3 separate regions of the Homo sapiens genome follow, and all the other regions are linked to region 1. Evidence: promoter capture Hi-C in 16 types of primary human blood cells and fetal thymus (Javierre and others, 2016). All regions are on one chromosome and are shown on one strand. The core of a region is centred on a gene start or on the middle of the fragment in contact, and the rest is flanking DNA. Distances in the headings are between cores, read along the strand shown. Region 1 holds the start of UCN2 (urocortin 2). Region 2 has its middle 27 kb from the start of FBXW12. Region 3 overlaps PLXNB1 (plexin B1).

Region 1 (2,581 bases), core at 1-2,500:
AACCCTCTCTGATTCCCACAAACCCTGCTGACTTGACCCCATTGGCCCAGACCCCTGTTCCCTGCCACTGGATGAGGGCTCCTGCACTGCCTACACCCTGCGCTGGTACCATCGGGCTGTGACAGGCAGCACAGAGGCCTGTCACCCTTTTGTCTATGGTGGCTGTGGAGGGAATGCCAACCGTTTTGGGACCCGTGAGGCCTGCGAGCGCCGCTGCCCACCCCGGGTGGTCCAGAGCCAGGGGACAGGTATGGGCTGAGCCCCCACCGTGGGGAACTGGGCACTGAGCCTGCCTGGATCGGGTTCTGGGGGAGGAGTCCTTGGGCCAGGGTTCCAGGTCAGGGTCCTGGAGGAGACGCTCCCTCGCAGTAGGGGACCTGGGGCAGACGCCCAGACCAAAGAGCTGAATATAGAGCCCCAGCCGTGGAGCCCCCAGTAGGGTCCCCTTCCATGTTCCCTCCTTTAAAGACCTAAGTATGGACCCCTCTGAGGTCAGAGCCCCCACTTCCTGTTGTAGCCTCCGCTCCCTCCCCTTGGCGGTGCCTCTGCCTGAGCGTCTCCGGGGAAGGTCAGATGGCTGACGACCGTTTCCAACCTGTCCTCACCAGGTACTGCCCAGGACTGAGGCCCAGATAATGAGCTGAGATTCAGCATCCCCTGGAGGAGTCGGGGTCTCAGCAGAACCCCACTGTCCCTCCCCTTGGTGCTAGAGGCTTGTGTGCACGTGAGCGTGCGTGTGCACGTCCGTTATTTCAGTGACTTGGTCCCGTGGGTCTAGCCTTCCCCCCTGTGGACAAACCCCCATTGTGGCTCCTGCCACCCTGGCAGATGACTCACTGTGGGGGGGTGGCTGTGGGCAGTGAGCGGATGTGACTGGCGTCTGACCCGCCCCTTGACCCAAGCCTGTGATGACATGGTGCTGATTCTGGGGGGCATTAAAGCTGCTGTTTTAAAAGGCTCCTGTTGTGACTGTTTGGGAAGATGGGGGGTTTCAAGGGGGAAGGTTTTCCTTGGGGGGTTGGTATTATTCTGCATGGGTACAGAGTCCCTCTGCCCAGTCCTGGTCACTGTCTTGTGATTCTCAGTCCCCAACTTGTCCCCGGAAAAGAGTAGATAGGGTGGGGGCTAAGGACACCCCCGGGAGGGATGAGTCATAGGTGGGGGGCTGCCTCATGCCAGGAAGCATGTACCAGCTCCCACCCCAGGGGGCTGAGGGAGATAAATGGGCCCTGAAGCGGGGTAGAGGGTCAGACCACAGGACAGTAGTGCCTGGCCCCAGCCCCAGGCAGCCACAGCAGGCTGCCTTACCCCAGAAGCAGCTGGTGGCGGTAGGACTGGGTTGGGTCGGGATGGGAAGGGTCTTGGAGGTTGAGTGGATGTGGGGTTTGGCTTTATGGAGGGCTTGGACCCAGGGGACTCTGGGATCTCTGGCTGCTTTTCTGCCTCTGAGATCCGATTCCTGCCCTTCTGTTTCCTGGATCAGCTGCAAGCTCTCCTGCTGAGAACCGCCTGCCCTCCTGTGGACTCTGTGTTTCTGTCTGAATCTTTCTTTCCATCATGCTGTCTGTCTCTGGGATGGTTTCTGTCTGTCTTTTTCTTCTAGTCTCCATTTTGCTCTGCCTCCATCTCCTTCATCTCCCTCTCTTGCTGTCCCTCTGTCTCTGGATTTCTTTGTTTCTTTTTTTCTGTCTTGCTTTCTGCCTCTTTGTCTCATTCTGGCTCTCCTCTTGTCTCCCCTTCTCTGTCTCTGGCCTGGCCTGGCCTCTCTAACCCCTTTCTCGGTGTCTTCCTCTCTCTCCATCCCCCGCTCTGTCACTCTGCCCTTGCCATCTGTCTCTGTCCATGGACCCCAGTTGACCAGAGCCCCTGCCCTGAGCCCATTTTCTCCTTGCAGCCTGACCTCACGATGACCAGGTGTGCTCTGCTGTTGCTGATGGTCCTGATGTTGGGCAGAGTCCTGGTTGTCCCAGTGACCCCTATCCCAACCTTCCAGCTCCGCCCTCAGAATTCTCCCCAGACCACTCCCCGACCTGCGGCCTCAGAGAGCCCCTCAGCTGCTCCCACATGGCCGTGGGCTGCCCAGAGCCACTGCAGCCCCACCCGCCACCCTGGCTCGCGCATTGTCCTATCGCTGGATGTCCCCATCGGCCTCTTGCAGATCTTACTGGAGCAAGCCCGGGCCAGGGCTGCCAGGGAGCAGGCCACCACCAACGCCCGCATCCTGGCCCGTGTCGGCCACTGCTGAGCCTGAGAGAGGGGGTCACAGTGATAGGGCCACCCTGGATGGGAAGACCTGGAGGGCAGCCACACAGCTGGACGGATGCTGCCACATCTGGGCATACAGTGTCTGGACGCTGCCACATCTGGGCATACAGTGTCTGGACACTGCCACATGGAGCCACTGTCATGCAGGTCATATCAGATCTGAGTGCCCCACAGAGTCACAGTGTGTCTGGACAGCCTGGACATTGGACATTGCTAAGTTGGGTCACTGCCACATGGAGTCTTGCCATGCCTGTGTGCCCCACAGACCTAATATATGTCCGGACAGCTTGGATGCTGCCACGTAAGGTCACTGCTG
Region 2 (2,581 bases), core at 30-2,529, 160 kb after region 1:
TGAGACTCTGTCTCAAAAAGAAAACAACAACAACAACAACAAAAAACCAGAAACCACTCTAGGTGTTTCCAATGGAAGGAATTTAAATATAAGGGATTGATTATGAAAGTGTGTGAAGGACAAAAAGGGGAGTAGTTATCCAGCGGTGAGTGACTATAGAAGCCTCTGTCACCTATAAGCTGGCAAAGGGGGCAGCAGTGTTACCCACAGCCTCTGACTGCTGAGTCAGTGGCGCCCGTGGGAAGCCAGGAGCTGCATGCTGGCTGACGCTGCAGGTGCCTGGGAACCTGCTAACCTGGCCCCTCCACCCATGCTGGTGAGTTGGTGCTGCTGGGGCACCTGCTGCCCTAGTGAATGGGTGCCACCAGGAAGAGAGGATTCAAGCCTGTCTTGCTCAAGACCTCCTCCACCACCAGACTTGCCTCAAGATCTCAGGCCCAAGAAGCCCCAGGGAGTGGAGTGACAGGAGCCTTGCTCTGGGAGGCAGGAGACCTGGATTCTAGTTCCTCCTCCTCTCACTGACTGGGCCTCTGGAGAGAAGGGCAGGGACATTCTGGCATGTGGCAGGAGCCACTCTGTGTCATGGGGTTGGATCCCAAGCTGGCACCTGGCAGGATTTAATGAAGAAACATTTATCAAGTGCTGGATCAGTCCAGCTCCTGGCAGGAAACTGACAGCATGTACCAGGAAAGATGCAGCTGGAAGAGAGTTTAATGAGGGGACTACTTACAGAGCTGCAGGCTCTGGGAAGCCAATAAGGGATGGTGAAGCACAGCTGTTACCAGTCCTGGGCTCTAGGGGTAGGGACAGAGTAGTCATCAGGACCAGTGGGGCTGTGGCTAAAGGTGGAAGCTTCAGAGGGAGGATGCTGGGGGAATAATTACCCTGGCCTCTTGTTCCTCCCCACTGCCCAGACTCCTGCCAGCCCGTCCCGTTGGCCAAGCCACCTGAAAGCCAGAGGGCAGGGGAGCCTGAATGGCAGGGCAGCCTCTGGACTGCTGAGTGGTGAAGAAGTGGGCAGAAAACTGCCTCTGGCCTGAGGACCTGCTGTCCTGGGAGGCACCTAGCAGGTGCTTTGTCATTCAAGGCCACAAGGTCACGGCCATAGCAGTACTTGGTTTCCAGCCCCCTGGCTTGCAGAATTTTCCACCGCACTCCATGCCCTAGTGCTCCTTGGGCGGTGCTGCACTGTCCACCTGAAGGACCTTGGAAACACCAAATTTTGGGGGCTGACTGGGCCTCTTCACCTTATCTCCAGGTTGGGTGGGATGCTGGGTGTGCAAATAGGGACCCAAGGAAGACTCCACACTACAGGCTGTGTCTACAGCTTCATCTCAGGGCAGAAGTCAGCAGGGCCAGGCACAGACCCATCCGGAGCTGGGGGAGGGGCAGGACGCCTGGTTCTCTACACCCAAAGAAATGTGTGTGGGGCACTCCCAAGCCCCCACGCAGAGACAAACCCTCGCGCCTGCGCCCAGCCCAGGTTGCTGACTGGAGTGGAGGCAGCAGAACTCTGTGTGTGTGTGTGTCTGTGTGTTTGATGTATATGTTTGAAGTGTGTGTGTAGCATTGGGGACAGGCAGAGGCTCTGCTCAATGGGGAATGATGTTCTGGTGGAACACCCCATGGACTTGGAGCTTGAGAAGTGGGCTTTGGCCAGGCCCTGGCACTGACCACCTAGGAACAGTCATCTTTTCCAAGCTTCTGGTTCCTCTTCTGTAAGGTGTGAGTCCCTAACCACCTTTCCAAAGACAGCATCCTGTGCAAGCTGTCACGGGAGGGGGAAGGGCCCTGGTGACCCTCAGGGCCTCTAGAGCCTGTGGGCAAGAGCTGGCCCTCCATGCCAAGGTGCCAGGCCTAACCCTGGTGAAGAGTGACCCAACTGGGCGACTGCCTGAGGCCTCAGAGGAGGACAAGGAGAAGGTGCACAGCAGCAGGGTGCACACCTTGCCCTGGCCTCTCCTAGGGTAGAGGACGGTGTGAGCCCCCAGAGGCTGTCATCCAGCCTGAGAGGTTTCTTGGCTCTTCCTCCCATGCCCAGGGTTCTCCCAGACTGCAGAGCAAGATCCAGGCTCCACACAATGCCAGAGGCCCTGCCTCTATCTTCTCTCTGGCCAGCGGCCCTATCGCTAACCCCACACATGAAGGATACTGCTTTGGCATCATCGTTTGTGAGGGCCAGGCTGGGGAAGGGTGGAGAGAGTGTCCTTCCCTGGGGAGGCTGAACCCAGGGAGATGGAGTGACATGCCCCAAAAACACAGCAAGTGGGACTAGAACCCATGTCTCCAGATGGAACCCCAGGCTCCCACTGCTCCATGCTGTGCAGGTTACACCTCCCACCCTGCCGCTCTCTCCGGGGGCCTCAGTCCACCTCCTGAGCCCATGTCCTCAGTCCATGATTGGACCGGGTCCCTGGGTCCCTTGGAGGACCAGCCAAGCCCAGGTCCTTCTTTGCTTCTTACTCCCCACCCCAGTCTCCTTGTTCTTCAGTCTTTTGCTTTCCCACTGGCTCCCTTCTCACACCTCCCATGGCTGTGCCCATTTCTCCTTTTAACTCTGTCAACTTTTGGATCCTATATT
Region 3 (2,581 bases), core at 61-2,560, 150 kb after region 1:
GACGGAGGCACCCGTGTCACCATCAGGGGCTCCAACCTGGGCCAGCATGTGCAGGATGTGCTGGGCATGGTCACGGTGGCTGGAGTGCCCTGTGCTGTGGATGCCCAGGAGTACGAGGTCTCCAGCAGGTAAGCTGGCTGCACCCAGCAGGAGCACGGCGCAGCCTGGGGCCTCCGCGGTTGGCGTTGCTGCTTGGGGCCTCCCACCCACCGCTCATCTGCCCCCCTCTCTCCCTGTTCCTTGATCCTGGCCACAATGCCCGAGTGCCAGCGTTGCCACTGAAGACCCTGAGCACCCACCACACCTGTAGGTTCCTGGCCTGGGCTGCTGGGGAATCCTTCCTGGGCCCGTCACTGCCCAGAACTGACTCGTGGCTCTGCTTCCTGCTCTGCTCACCTGGTCTTCTGAGGGACTGTGGATATATTAATAGCTGTGGCAGCAGGACCCTCAGATCAGACAGATAAGCTCAGGGGCTGGCCTTCTCACCAGCTCACTCTTCCCCAGGCATTGTCCTGGGCTGCCAGGCTCTTCAGGAAGGTAGACTTGGAAGGCACACCTCAGAAAGGCACACTGGCCGAGGGCCAGGCTCCACTGTCGTCTCTAGGGACCCCTGCTGCCTTCCTGGGGCTCCTGGGTTATGGTAACCTGGCCAGCGGTTGCAGGCCCCAAAGGTACACACGCAGGACATTCCTAAGGAGATGTCCATAAGCAGCAGGGCCCAAACGTGGCTGAATATCAGGGTAACCTGCAGATCCTGTCCCAAACCAACACAAACATCTGGATTCAGGAGGCCCACGGTGGGGCCCCCAAATCTGTATTTGAAACAAGGAACCACTCTCCTGGAGCACGGAGTGTCCCCTGAATGTGTTATGACCGAGAACTTACGGTGACTATCTAGACTGTTAGTGTTCCAGACCATAAGACTGCTGTGATTTATGAAGCAATTAGCATATATTCTGTCTGGAGCCTCCCCTGGGTGGCTCACACGTCACTTGTGTCTTCCTAGTGTTTGCAACAACTGTGACAATGTCACTGAGTTGAGCCACTGCAGGCTTAACACTCTGGAAGTTTAATTTGCCCAAGCTTCTATTTTCTGGCTAAGAACCAGCATTTTCTTAGATGGTTCACTTTCCCTTCACCTGTATTTCCCTGTCTGACTAGAGGCTTTCAGGGACTCTTTTTCCTGAATAAATCAAGTTTCTACCATGCTTTGAGTGGGTACTGTGCATGTGACGTGGCGGAGGACATGGGCGGCTAGCTGTGCCCACTCACTTGCTCAGCAGCTCGCCCCACAACCAGGCTGACAGGGCCCCTTTGTAAATTTATGCCACAGATAAATTCTTCCTTATTGGGGGCCCCTGGGGTTGAACTTAAATGATTGAAGCCACAAATATTAATTCTCAGATACCAAGGCCTTCTGATGTGTCATAAAGAATTCCCTCCAAAGTGAGAGAGGGTCTCTGTCAATCTTATGGAGCATGGGAAGGGGAAGACCACCTGACAGTAGGGCAGGGAGAGGGGCTGCCAGGTAAGCTTGAGGGGCCCTTGATGCAGCCTGGCACCCCCTAGCCTGCCCTGTGCCTACAGCCTCGTGTGCATCACCGGGGCCAGTGGGGAGGAGGTGGCCGGCGCCACAGCGGTGGAGGTGCCGGGAAGAGGACGTGGTGTCTCAGAACACGACTTTGCCTACCAGGTACCTGACTGCTGAGCCACCCCCAGCTGCCAGCGGGCCAACCTCTCTGGTGGCTCCTCTCAACCCATCTGGTTATTCCTTGGTGGGGCTCCCAGTCCTGGGCCAGCCTGTCTCTCAGGCTGTCCCTGCCTCCATGTGTCTGGTCTGATGCTCATCTCTCTCCCTGTCTGTCCCACAGGATCCGAAGGTCCATTCCATCTTCCCGGCCCGCGGCCCCAGAGCTGGGGGCACCCGTCTCACCCTGAATGGCTCCAAGCTCCTGACTGGGCGGCTGGAGGACATCCGAGTGGTGGTTGGAGACCAGCCTTGTCACTTGTGAGGGCCACTTCCTCATCCTGCAAAAATCCATCTGCTCCAGGGGAAAGATGGAGGGGTCTGAGATCCTGGGGAGAGCAGAAAGGGGAAGAGGGCCAGTCTGCTCCTTCAGAGAGTGGCCAGACCCTCCCTAGCCAGCTGTGGTGGGAGTGCACCTCCAGGGACACCTGGTGGAGACTGCAGTCAGCGCTTGAGGGAAGCCAGTTGGGGCCTGAGTGGTCCAAGTTTTCCCTGCCTGCGCCCCTGCATTCATTCCCACCTCCCCTCCCAGGCTGCCGGAGCAGCAGTCAGAACAACTGCGGTGTGAGACCAGCCCACGCCCCACGCCTGCCACGCTCCCTGTGGCTGTGTGGTTTGGGGCCACGGAGCGGAGGCTTCAACGCGGACAGTTCAAGTATACCTTGGACCCCAACATCACCTCTGCTGGCCCCACCAAGAGCTTCCTCAGGTGTTGGGCCAGGGGTGTGGCTGCATGGCAGGTGGCAGGGAGGTCTTTGCAGCTCCACTATGTGGGGGTTTGTAGGGCTTTATGTTGAGGCACTGAGAATCCCATGCTGCTAGTAGGGGCAAGGG

The links. The method cuts DNA at HindIII sites, captures the fragments that hold promoters and counts their contacts. A CHiCAGO score of 5 or more calls a contact.
Region 2: a fragment that was not itself captured here is called in contact with the fragment with the promoter of UCN2 in region 1 in 5 of 17 cell types (naive CD4 T cells, total CD8 T cells, naive CD8 T cells and 2 more); the score reaches 7.5 in naive CD4 T cells.
Region 3: a contact is called between a fragment that was not itself captured here and the fragment with the promoter of UCN2 in region 1, in 2 of 17 cell types (naive CD4 T cells and neutrophils). The highest score is 6.4, in naive CD4 T cells.

The regions. Positions count from the first base shown.
Region 1 is chr3:48,562,450-48,565,030 of GRCh38, reverse strand. It overlaps UCN2 (urocortin 2), which reads left to right and starts at 1,250. Exons shown (of 2, transcript NM_033199.4): 1 at 1,250-1,328; 2 at 1,895-2,581. The coding sequence starts at 1,907. The coding sequence ends at 2,245. COL7A1 (collagen type VII alpha 1 chain) reads left to right here. Exons shown (of 119, transcript NM_000094.4): 118 at 51-248; 119 at 609-958. The coding sequence ends at 625. It also overlaps a transcript of PFKFB4 not described here. The HindIII fragment of the contact is 21,136 bases long and covers 1-2,581 here.
Region 2 is chr3:48,397,728-48,400,308 of GRCh38, reverse strand. No RefSeq gene overlaps it. Among named protein-coding and RNA genes, the nearest start is that of FBXW12, 27 kb to the right of the region's middle. The HindIII fragment of the contact is 849 bases long and covers 855-1,703 here.
Region 3 is chr3:48,415,458-48,418,038 of GRCh38, reverse strand. It overlaps PLXNB1 (plexin B1), which reads left to right. Exons shown (of 38, transcript NM_001130082.3): 16 at 1-128; 17 at 1,588-1,693; 18 at 1,872-2,008; 19 at 2,280-2,456. Among named protein-coding and RNA genes, the nearest start is that of PLXNB1, 13 kb to the left of the region's middle. The HindIII fragment of the contact is 450 bases long and covers 1,086-1,535 here.